Regions from separate parts of the Homo sapiens genome. Here all the other regions are linked to region 3. The links are contacts of gene promoters, found by promoter capture Hi-C in blood cells and fetal thymus (Javierre and others, 2016). All regions are on one chromosome and are shown on one strand. Each heading gives the region's core, a stretch centred on a gene start or on the middle of the fragment in contact. The rest is flanking DNA. Distances are from core to core; before and after follow the strand shown. Region 1 has its middle 45 kb from the start of CEP162. Region 2 has its middle 83 kb from the start of CEP162. Region 3 holds the start of SNAP91 (synaptosome associated protein 91).

Region 1 (4,242 bases), core at 205-2,704, 560 kb before region 3:
AAAATCCAGGCTCTTTCTATAAAATAGGACCTTTTCTGAGGTCAGTCAGGGAAGGTTGGAATGACGATAACTGTCTTAATCATCCTCAGCTAAGGGTGTGACTCAAATATCCAGACCCTGAGTAAATTTGTTAAATAAAGCAAAGAAAGAAAGGAACATCATAAAAAGTGACCAGTTATGTCTTCAGACAGCACTGGTATGTTAAAGTAGCTGAAGTTAATTTATATCATTAAATTTGGCATTTTTAAAACATTTTCTTGGTGGAGGAAATTTAAAGAATCATTATGCTTTAATCTACTTTGAAAACTGTTTAGTATTAGTCCGTTTCATCTCTTTCATTTCTTCCAGAGAAGAAGAACTAGGGTATATGTACAGGTTTACCCCAAAACACTCAGGCCCTATCTTATTTTGAATATTCTAGTATTCATTTAGCTTGACTTGTTTATCTTAAATCATAGTCAGGATGGTTTTTTAACTTATAATTACTCACTTGCAAACAGCTTGTAACAACAAGCACCTACGTAGCACCTCTACTCCCATCCATGGCAAAGACTGCTAGCTGACCACCAAAACTATTTCTTCTTCCTCCTAGGAAAGCAACAAGACTATACTTTCTAATCCTTTGCAGTTTGATGCGCTCACATGACACTAGCCAATAATCTATGAGTAGAAGTGATATGAGCCCCTTCTAGGTTTGACCAATGAAAATCTCCCACACACAATCCTACAATGGTACTTTTTCTTTTCTCTTCCACCAGCTTGATGCCAAGCAGTGAAGCCAGCCAGAGCCACATGATGAAAAAAGTCTCCATCACCCAAACACCTTTAAAAGAAAACAAGAAAGCTCCTTTCTTCACATGAGTGTGAGCAAGCACTAAACCTCTACAGTGCCAAGCAACTGAGATTTAGGTACAATGCCAGTACCCAATCCCATTCTCGTTCTCTTTCTGATCGAGCTTCCCACAATGTTGATGCAGAAATGGATGGTGAAGTTGCCACTGTTATCCAGGAGAATCAGCACTACTGAGCCCTCACTACTCCGACTCCGGGAACTGGTTGCTCACCACGGAAGCATCCTCCACCTAGGCTCTCCCTGATTCCTGAACCCTTGCCCTGCCCATCAGCAAACTGATCACCGCAGGAACTCTGTCTACGCACTCCTCATTAGGGTTTGGTGGTGGGCAAGTGCAGAAGAGGATAAAGAGAACATTTTTGAGCATCCATTATGTGTGTAGTATGCCATATGCTCCTTATACATCCTCTCATCTTGAACATCACCAAACCCCATCAGGAAAATATCAGTATCCTCACTCTGCGTAAGTGGAAACTTAACACTCACATAGTTTACCAGCTGGTAAGTGGCAGAATCTAGATTCAAACTCACTCTACTGACTATAAACCCAGTGATGGTTCAACTCACCGCAAAGTCCTCCTGCACTGACACACACCCATCCTACCTCCCTGCTGTCATCTTAGGATCTCCCTTGGAGTGAGGCTTCTGGAGAGGACAGTGTGGGAGCCTCTCTTTGGAAGCCAAGTCTTTTCACTGAGACCAGAGTGGGTGGAGGATGTGTAACTGGCCTCTACATTTAAAATTTGGAACACATTTTTTCCATGGGAAAAATATGCAAAGATGTTCCATTTTTCAAAATGTATGCAAAACCACTTTGTAAACCATCAAGAGGTACATAATATGCCTATAAGGAATTACTATTCTGCAGTACATTAGCACTATAATTCCAACACGTTGTGGATTAAATAACCTTTTGTGAAGTAGTTGGAGAATTTAACCACTGAGTGTTACATTGTCTCAAAGGAAAAATACATTCCAATAGCTAAACAACTGACTTACAACAGATTTTTGGAACCCAATCCGTTCATAAACTGGGAACTGCCTGGATTAGCATGAAGAGGACACATCATCACCATCTTCATCAAGTATTATTTATTAAGGGCAGAGCATGGGGTGAGGGCTTCAGGGTAAAAGAAAAAAAGAAGGGAAGTGTTAATCTAATTTTTTAAATGGCTACAATTCCACATCCCTGGTTGTGAATGAACTCAAGCTGTTCCAAAACAACCCTCTCATCTTTCTCCTTACTTCCTTCCCCATTTCACTTATCTTTTGCTCTCTTTTCTATTTTCCTCTTACCATTGTATATGTTTTTGTCCATATTCCACATTTATTCTCGTGTTAAATAAACTCATTTCACCACATCCTTGCCAGCATTTGTTTTTGCCTGTTTAATCAGTAATAACTGTACATTTTAAAATAACTTGAAGAGTACAATTGGATCATTTGCAACTCAATGGATAAATGATCGAGGGGACGGATACCCCCATTCTTCTTGATGTGTTTATTTCACATTGCATGCCTGTACATAACATCTCATGTACCTACAAAAATTAAAAATTTTAAAAATTTAAAAATAAAATATATTTAAAAATAAAAAACAAACTCTTTTCAAGGACTATGTTCTCAGGCTCTGCAATAGAGTCTAGAAATACCAAGATGAACAAAATATAGTCCTCAGTGAACTCTTAGACCAGTAGAAGAGGTGAGCCTGAAAACAAACAAAATTTCCTCAGGTGTGATAAGAACAAGCATCTATGTAGGGAGTTAAGAGAGTGTAGTATGGGCAGATACCAAAGGAGAAATTCCAGTTTCCTTTTTGCTCATCTCACACTTTCATGTCCTCTCCCTCCCTTTCCTCCTGCCACACCAGTTTAAATCTTCATTACTTCTCAACCACCCTAAAATCATTCCCTAGCTTTTGTCACTCCCTACTGTAATCCAGTGAATATACTGTCACCAGATCAATGTTTCTTTGGGACAATGTATCGTGCCCACTACATATCCCACTGACACTTTTTGGTCACAGAATTTTATAATTCCTCACATTGCATTTGGAGGCCCTACAAGGCCTCTATAGCCCATCCCTACACAAAACCCTCTTGCTTGTATCCTGTTAGTTAGTCAAATTGAACTGCATGTCATTCCCCCAAACAAGCTTCTTTCCTTAAGCCTTTGCTGTTCTGTCTTTCTCTACAGTGTCCTTCAAATTATTAGTGTGAAATTCTGTGCATCCTTCAATACTCCACTCATAGGCCACTTATTTGCAAACATTCCCTTATACCCTCAGCTATGGGTCCTTTATTGCCTTTCTGGGGGAAGGAACCAATGTTTGCTGAACACCTTTTATACATTAGGCACAGTGCTGGGCATTTTCTATGTGGTATCCTATTTAGTGTTCAAAACACCCCTGTGAAATGACTGCAAATTTTCCCACTTCTCAGATAATGAAATAAAAAGGTAAAGAATGTGTCTAAGTAAGGAAGTAGCAGAGTCAGAATTTGAGCCCATGTCTACCTGGACTGCAGAGCCCGTGTTTGCTTCTGTCCACCGAGCCCATTTATTATCTCCCTCACTTTTCCCTCAGAGCATCAAATTTGAAATGTGGTATATGTATTCATCAGTATCTCTATAATGTTATGGATACTTTCAGGTCAGAAACTTGGTCTCAAATATCTTTGCATCCCAGAGTAGCTGCTGCCATATCTTGAATAGTAGAAACATACATAATGTGATATTAATATGAAAGTGCTCCATCAGGCATGACTCACAAACTTCTATCTTGTTTCCAGATGCAACTTAACTCATCAGTGAACAGCCATGGAATCATGTATCCACACACACATTAATGTAAAGAACCAGATATAAAATTCTCACCAGTGTAATTCTCTAAAGAAATTCTGAGCAGAGCAGAAACTAAAGAAATTGGCCTTTGGTGTTTGCATCTGGCAACATTTGAGAAGGATAGGATACTGAGTGTCAGCAAATTCTGAAAATGCTTTGTTTATTTGTTTAGATATTCAAAGTGAGCCATTTGCCAAGTTTGCAGACCCAAGTACAAGACTAAGACAAAAACAAGTGTTTCTTCTCAGCCAATAACAGCATCTAATACCATCTGGAAACCTACACCAGTTAAGAAAGAAACAAATATGCCTTTTTTCTTTCCTTCTAAGTCCTCAAAGCTTGTAAATCTGGGATCTGTTGGGTAGAGAAAAGAGAGTTCCAAAAATGGGGACCCTCCATAAAACTCAACCCCCCTGGCAAACAAGATTTCAGATCATGGAGACAAACAGAGATCATGTTTATTCTCATCTCAGTGGCTCAGGAATAAAATAAAGGTTGCTTCTATCTCTGTCCACATTGAAAGAACTCCATTGTGAGCCAATTTAGTG
Region 2 (4,129 bases), core at 1,016-3,515, 600 kb before region 3:
TAAAAGGAAAAAAAATTCCAGATTGAGAGAATAATAATTGTAACACAAAAACAAGATAGAGATTCTGTGTTACTTTCTACGTGGACTACATTTTCCCATTTTATATACTCAGAGCAGCTTTCTCTCAGCTTCCAACAATCAGAGGACAAATTGAGGGAGACAAGAATAGGTCTGGCAAATATGACAAAGGACATGGAAGTACTTAAAGGGAAAATTGTGAAATGACAAAAAACTATAACAAGCCTGCAAAAAAAAAGGTAATCCTTCAAATAAGATAATTCAAAGATTGAAACTTGCATGGCTCAGAGATCTCATTTTTTTCTTTTAAAGGACCTTTATTTTTCTTCATTCCCTTGATATTTGAATAAAATTTTCAAAGCTAAGAAAGACTTATTGGCCGAACCAGGAAAACCACTTGAAGCAAAAGCATTTTGGTTACTCAGAGGTATTTAACGGAAAGATTAAAAACATAAGTCTTTTTTCAACCCATTGATTTTTTTTATTTAGTATGTTTTTACATTACTTCTCAACACAAATAAAAGTACTATTCTTTTTTCTTTTATTTGAGAAAATTTACAGTGTTTAATACTTTAGGCTTGTATTTCAACGTATTTTAGAGTTTTAGAGGTTTTTACATTTTAAACCTTTTAAAGGTGTTCTTACAAACAATCTTTATGAGAAGAGTAATTTTCACAAAATGTAGTTAATTTCAGCCTTTCTTTCAGGCCTTGGAAGAAAAGCATATATTTGTCATAGGCCTGACAAAGTTTCGCTATTTCCAGCCACTTTAGGGTTTTATATGGCTGGGAGGACTGGTAGCATCCATTCTTTCTAAATTATTCCATTTCATACTAAATGAATTTTGATTTGGAATCCAAGACACATTTCCTAAGTAAAGGTATAGTTTTGGCTGACTTTTCCTCACCACACTACAACTCTCATCCCATAGCTTTCATCTCGCACTTTCCTGAATGAATTTTTTTGTATTGGAAGCCATGTCATCAAAGTTCTGATTAGCCTAAGGATGTCTTAAATCTCCTTCTTTTAAAGAAAACCTAAGCTTCCTCAAATGTAAAGCAAAGCCAAATTCAAGGGTCCAAATTCTACTGTATTATTTCATTTTAAGAGATAAAACATGGTCTTCCTTTTCTTTTAATAAGTTATTGAAAAAGTAAGCATGTAAGTGAAATGCAAGACAATTATTGATATTTTTTTAAAACTACACAATTATACTCACCAGAAATGTCAGCTAAACTTATGTTTGTGGGTAGAACTTCATTTTTTAACTTTGTTTTCCAAATTGTTTTTAATATGTTTGTATTGCTTTTATAAGAAAAACACCCATAAAATGTTCAAATAAATGTTGACATACTAACTGTTAAACTTCCTCCCGTTTTTACTGTAATCTCTTGTTCATAATTGAGATGCAGTAAAACATACCAATGTGTAGTAAGGAGAGTAAAATTCCCTGAAGACCTTTAAGGTGTTTTATTATCTAACTTTATTAATACTTTTTGTTTTTTTTTTTTTTTTTTGAAATGGAGTCTCGCTCTGTCGCCCAGGCTGGAGTGCAGTGGCGCGATCTCGGCTCACTGCAAGCTCCGCCTCCCGGGTTCACCCCATTCTCCTGCCTCAGTCTCCCGAGTAACTGGCACTACAGGCGCCTGCCACCACCCCCAGCTAATTAGTTTTTTGTATTTTTTAGTAGAGACGGGGTTTCACCGTGTTAGCCAGGATGGTCTCTATCTCCTGACCTCGTGATCCCCGCCTCGGCCTCCCAAAACTTCGTGAAGACTTTTAAGGATAAAAAGCTTATTTTCCATAAACAGGAATACTAGCTTCTTGAAGTCCTTGAGGAAAGGAATAACTTTGCTAGGAAGAAAATATTCACCGGCATCTGGAGTGCGAGACTGGATGCCCCAAACACCCACAGCTTCTGCAGGACACACGTTCTCCCAAGAGCATAGGCTGGATGGGGGTTGCTACAGGTCATCCCAGCTGCCTCTCGACCTGCCTATCACTGCTGGAAACATCTGAAGCCATCTAGGCATTTTTCCAAGTTCCAAGTCTGCTCTTAGAGGAGGAACACAGTATCCATCAAGATACCAGCTCCATGACCTCAGTATCCTCAATGACCAGAACAGAGCCTGCCATTAGTAGATATTCTATATGTATGTGTTAGATGAATGATATCGAAAAAATGTGCAGGATTTCATTCAGGGTTGTTTGTTTCTTATTTTGTTTTGTTTTTCCTTTAGTCCATGTGTGCCCATTACAAAGTAAACTCTCTTAGGGGTAAAAATACAATCTTCTCAGTATCTAGTACTCTACTGGTTCATAAGTAATTTTAAGTAATATCCAAAATTCTTAAATTTCAGGACAGTACTATAGAAATAGGTAATATGTTTAATTGCTGAAAGTTGGGACATAAACTGCCTAGTTTCCAATCCCAGCTCCACCTCATAAGTTGTATGACCTTTGGACAGGTAACTTAACTTAAAACAGAGGAAGTAACTGAACTTCCCTCATATGATAGTTGCAAGAATTAAATAACTTAAAACATGAAAAATGCTTAGAGCAAACCAAGGAAATAGTGTTTGCTTTATTATTATTAATTTATCCTAGGTTTGAAGTCTTCTAAGAAACTAGCTTCTAAGTTTTTTGTTTGTTTACTCTCAGAAAAGCACAACTTCCTGTTTCTAAGCGGGGGGAAGCTTTTTTAAAGTTATAAAAAGACTCAAAGTCTTCTTGGACATCAAATAGCTCTTACAAAACAACATTTTGATGAGTTAAGTGTAAAAGAATCAAAAACATACGGATTAAATTTCCTTTATAATACACATGGGTTTAAAGTGAAGAGAAAACTGCTTAGCAAAACATATTTTGGGTTTGCCAAACCCAAAACATTGAAAAAAGGTTCAAGACATTCTGCAGACCCAGAAGAGAACCAGGTTCCCCCACATAGTTATGTAAAATCTCCACTTATCTAGACCTCTGAACTCCAAACTGCTTCACAGCTGGTCATCTTTTGATCAATATTCTCAAAGGATCAGCTTCCTTCAATTTATGAGGAAGTATGCTGCACCTCAGAAGTAGTATATAAGCAGTTTATAATTTAAAAGACAAAGAGGTTATCATCTGCCTATGATTTTTATTTTAATATTTTATTGAAGATCTGTACCTATGCATTTGAATGCAATAATAAATGTTGCAATTAAGATGTAGGCAAATGTCTTATAATAAGTTGATATTATATTTTTCTGTTTGCAACACAACTGTGAGTAAGCAGCAACTTATACATTTAAAAGTATGATTCAGGGTAAAATTAATATTGTAAAAGTTGTTTTCTACATAAAAGTATTTTTCTAGTGTAATTTTCTTTATGAGGGTATTGATACAGCTCTGTCTGCACATGTTATCAGGATTGGAAAATATTTAATTGCCTCATCCAGATTCTCTTCACTCATGTATTAAGTCAATGAAATGTTCTGTAGCTCTATTTTAAGAAAACAAAAAAATTTCAAATTTTAGATTTCTTCTGAAACAAAAGATTTCCTAAAATGAACACCTTTACAGGTGTTTACAGAGGAGCAGGGGGGAAAAGCAGCCAGCAATACTAACTGATAGTCCAGAAAAACAGGCAGAAATCAAAAGTTCATGTTAGTGTTGATGACATGATCACATCGAGAGAAGCAGTTTTTTTAATGACAGAGGCAGATATATGGATGGCATGACCTACTTTTTTTCCTGCTAAGCCCTGCTTGAGTATTTCCTATAGTAACCTAGATCCAATATCATGAAACTTACCGTATTGGTTAATAAGTCTGTCTGTAAATAAAATATTAGGATAAAATAGAAAGAATTTAATGTTTTGGAGTATATTTTAAATTGAAATTGGAGGGTGGCAAAACTAGCTCAAAACACATTTCTCTATCTTGAAATGCATTACTTTTGAAAAATTTTTTCTTAGCCACCTAACTAAAAAGATACTAACTTTAAAGATATTGTTCCCTTTGTAACAGCAGCCTAAGGAATGTGGGTGGTCCCTTTCTTTAAAAACTGTCAGATTCTCTTTGAGTAGAAAGTTTACTGCTAAAAGAACCCTTTTAAGAATGAAGTGTTGATCTTA
Region 3 (4,154 bases), core at 643-3,142:
TTAATGCTATTAGGTTTTGCTTCGTCCTACTTTGAAGCTCTGTTCTTAGATATACAAACAAGTAGAATTGTTCCATGCTCTTAATGAATTTTTCATTATGAAATGTGCCTGTTTATTGCTATTAATATTCCTTATTGTAAAACCTACTTTGATATTAATATTGCCACTCCCAACTCTATCAGATTATATTGAGGTATAATTAACAAACAACAAAATTCGCCAATTTTAAGTGTACAAATTGATGAGTTTTGAGAAATACATGCAGCTGTATAATCATCATCACCGTCACGATATAAAACATTTCCATCTCTCCAAAAAGTTTCCTTCTGCCCCTTTGCAGTCCCCTCCCCCAATGCCACCGTCACCTGACTCGGCACCTGATGTGTTTTCTGTTTCTATAGTTTTGACTTTTCCAGAATGTTACATAAATGAAATCAAAATAATAAGTAGAATTTTTGATAGAGCTTCTTTCCCTTCGTCTAATGAATTTGAGATTCATGAATGGTATTAGTTTGTTTCTTGTTATTGCTAAGTAGTATTCCATTATGTGGATATACCATATTTTGTTTATTCATTTACTAGTAGAATAACATTTGGCTTTCCTCCAGTTTGGGGCCATTATATTAAGCTGCTATAAAACTGGAGTACAAGTTTTTTTAATAGAATTGCGTTTTTATTTCCCTTGTAAATATGGTAAGACTAGTACTTGAGACAATAGTGCTCTTAAGCTGTCTCTCTTTAGTCATTAAGCTTCCAATTAGTCCTAGAATCAGTCTCAGTAGTTAGGAAATCATGACTGCATACTGAACACTGTACCAGGTGAAAGAGAGGAATATATAACAAAACGTTGAGATCGATAGGTATCGATATATGGCTTCAAGGCCGAGCAGAAGCCACCCGAAGCAAGGAGAAAAAATGCCAGGAAAGCTCACAAATATAGTTTTGATCTTCATGCTACTGTGAGAATTAAAAAAAAAGGTGAACATAAATAACAACCTTTGAAAATGTCAACACGTGAAGCTATTAACCAACTCCACATCCCTGTTTAGAAATTCCTGCTTACTATTCGAATATACACTTGACATACAATTGACGGACGTTCCAACACTATATTTAATTGGCAGAAATTACTTCTTAAGGGTACAAAGGGTTTTCTTTATGCACGCAAATGATTACTGTCGAAGGTAATCTGGGACTCGATTAACGGCTGTGTTAATTATTCTCCCTTCAGCAGACCTCAGTATCCGTTTAAGACTAAAGTGGCTAGAATTACCTGCCCACCCGGGCTCCCAGTTGTAACTGAGACAAGCGGAGGAGCCTGAGGAGCTGAAGACGCACAGGTGACGGTCGCGGATGGCCGGCAGGATCTGACATTTAAAATCGCCCTGCTCATCTGGGCCTCGGAGCCTTTGACAGGCGGGCGTGTCAGCGACAGTGTGGGGAAGGGGCTGGGCTCCGCCAGGCAGCGCGCGACGACGCCCTTGCCTTGGCCTTCACAGAGTAGAACCCGAGAAGCCCACTCGCCCGTCTTGGCCAACGCCCCCAACGCCCAGGGCTCCCCCCGCAGTCGGCGGGCAGGTGTGCGTGGTGCGCGAGCCCAGTGCGTGCCGGGTGCGGCGCCAGCAGCGGAGGGGCGGCCCGGCGCCCAGCGGAGAGCCGCTGGCTGGGTGGGTGTCGGCCTCCCCGCCTCCTTCTTCTCCCCGCCGGCTTGCCGGGGATGCTTGCGCGAGGCGCCCCCTCGCCTTTAAGCTCCCGGCCCCGGGGGGCGGTGTGTGTGAGTAGCTGGGAGGGGGCCGCGAGGCGCTCCGCCGAGGGCTCGTCCGGGTTTGTCCGCCGCCGTCACCTGACTCGTCGGAGGAGCCACAGCTGAGGTGGGGGCGGGGATGGGGACGCAGCTCGGAGCGCTAGAGAGACGCGGCGGCGCTGGCAGAAGAGGCGGCGGCGGGCGGGTACTGGCTTCTGGGGCCAGGGGCCAGGGGCGGTGGGCGCCGGGACCGCGGAGCTGAGGAGCGGGGCCCGGCCAGGGCTGGAGACTTTGCGCCCGGGGGCACCGGGGCTACGCGCGGTCGCACACATCCACCGGCGCGGCTTCCCTCGGCGGCCCGGGCTCCGCTCATCCTGCGGCGGGCGGCGCCGCTCAGGGGCGGGGTGAGTACCCGCGGCCGTACTCGGCCCCCTCCCCGCGCCAGGGTCTCGCGGGGATCCGCAGAGGATAATCCCAGGGTGCGGAGAAGGGCAGCGGCCGAGTGACAGCTCCGCGGAGCGCTCCAGGGCGGGCGGGGGACTGGGCTTCGCTGTCAGCCCGGCTCCTCTCCAAAGCCAGGAAGGGTGAGGCGCCCCAAGACTCCGGCGCCTCCGCAGAGCTCCCGGGCGGCCCCTGCGGCAGGGATTTGGAACCGGGGGGAAGGGGCCCGGGCGATGGGCCTCGGCGAGGCTTTGGAGCCGGCGGCGAGGAAGGAAGGGGAGGCGAGGGCATAACATGGCGCAACGCTAGGATAATCTCCTTCGCGACTGAGGGAGGACGAGCCCTTTGCTGCAGCAGCGCGAGGAGGAGGAGGGAGGCAGCCAGGGCTTGGGTATCCGATGCATTCCCCGAAGCCTGCGGGCTGCTAGGAGGAAAGTCTGCTGAGGTGGGAGATGGGCACCGGTGGGTGCGGCGCCCAGGGAATAACCCCAACGCACGTTGTGGCTAGTCCAGCACCCGCGGGTCAGGTTGCGGGGAAAGTGCTGATTGACAGGGGGGTCCCCAGGGGGTGAGTCTGGCCCTATGTGGGGGCCGGGGGAGAATGGGGACGGTGTCACGATGCTGCGACTGGAGCCCACGCTGGGGTTCCGTGACGGCCCTACTCACGGCCAAGACTCCCTGGACCGCATCGCAGGAGCGGGGCTTGGCGCGTTGCTGGCTCCGAGAGGTGGTGCCAGGGTGGGGATGGAGGAGGAGAGAGCCGCCGCGCGGCTGGAGGAGGCAAGGCCTGGGTGCTTGGAGGGTAGGGTCTGCGGATTAAAGCCGGACCGTCTCCCCTTGTTTCCTGCAGAAGAGGAGGCGGTAGACGCGACCACAGAAGATGTCGGGCCAAACGCTCACGGATCGGATCGCCGCCGCTCAGTACAGCGTTACAGGCTCTGCTGTAGCAAGAGCGGTCTGCAAAGCCACTACTCATGAAGTAATGGGCCCCAAGAAAAAGCACCTGGACTGTAAGCATCTCTTTATATAAGAGGGACATGCGCACGGCAGAGGCGCCTGGGATGCTGGTGGTGCGGCCTGCGCTCTTGGTCCATAATGCTGTGGCCTCTGATACTCCCAGCCAGGTTGCCCCTGAGCTGAAATTCTTCAGCTGTGAAGGTGTTCCCTTGGGTTAGCCATGAAACCTTGTCTTGTGAGCCATTTTTTCCTCTTATTGACCTCCAAGGTCTTGGTGGAGGGGGAAAAATACACACACACACACACACACACACGCATATGTATATACACACACACAAGAGAGAGATTGTACACACTGAATTAGATGTTTTTCACCTTTTTTTCTTTCTCCACCCACCCTCCCTTCTCCAAATTAGAGGAAATTAGAGGTTGCACAGTCAAAAAAAAAAAAGATGAATTTATGGAAGGTCAAACTTGTCACCCTAGTTCTTTCCTAAATACATTTCAGATAGTTCTAAGGTAGTATAATCTTTTTAAGTGTTGCTCCTGAGGATTGTTTTTGTGAGTATGGGTGTGTGTGTGTGTGTGTGAGGTATGTTACCATACCAAACTGAAATAAATTCAAGGTACTGAATGAGGAAATTGGACTTCATAGCTATGGCAATTTCATTTTACACATCCTGGCACACTTTGTCCCATTCTCAGAAAATGCTGGGTGAGATGACTATGCTATGGTCACAAAATGGATGTACTTCCCCAGCATCTGAGATGGTGCAATTTTAGATGAAACCGTTTAATTCTTAATATTATTTTTGTAACTGGTTATTTGATGGAAAAGGCTTTATTCTACTCTGGAATCTATATATTTCTGAAATACCTTAATTAACAGTAAATCTTTTGTCACCGAAGGATAAACAGAGGCACTTAGAAAAGAAAAAGGCTTTCACCTGCTTTGGGTGGTGAGGTTTCTCATAAGTCAGGCTATATGAGTGTATGTTCAGCAGTTGCTATT

What was found. The method cuts DNA at HindIII sites, captures the fragments that hold promoters and counts their contacts. A CHiCAGO score of 5 or more calls a contact.
Region 1: a contact is called between a fragment that was not itself captured here and the fragment with the promoter of SNAP91 in region 3, in 1 of 17 cell types (neutrophils). The highest score is 5.3, in neutrophils.
Region 2: a contact is called between a fragment that was not itself captured here and the fragment with the promoter of SNAP91 in region 3, in 1 of 17 cell types (neutrophils). The highest score is 5.1, in neutrophils.

Annotation. Positions count from the first base shown.
Region 1 is chr6:84,270,899-84,275,140 of GRCh38, reverse strand. No RefSeq gene overlaps it. Among named protein-coding and RNA genes, the nearest start is that of CEP162, 45 kb to the right of the region's middle. The HindIII fragment of the contact is 3,112 bases long and covers 1-3,010 here.
Region 2 is chr6:84,308,191-84,312,319 of GRCh38, reverse strand. No RefSeq gene overlaps it. Among named protein-coding and RNA genes, the nearest start is that of CEP162, 83 kb to the right of the region's middle. The HindIII fragment of the contact is 903 bases long and covers 1,814-2,716 here.
Region 3 is chr6:83,706,839-83,710,992 of GRCh38, reverse strand. SNAP91 (synaptosome associated protein 91) reads left to right here and starts at 1,892. Exons shown (of 30, transcript NM_001242792.2): 1 at 1,892-2,148; 2 at 3,036-3,195. The coding sequence starts at 3,066. LOC105377879 (a long non-coding RNA gene) reads right to left here and starts at 1,551. Exons shown (of 3, transcript NR_136251.1): 1 at 1,274-1,551. RefSeq lists silencers at 1,620-1,679, 2,010-2,219, 2,629-2,923. The HindIII fragment of the contact is 3,637 bases long and covers 753-4,154 here.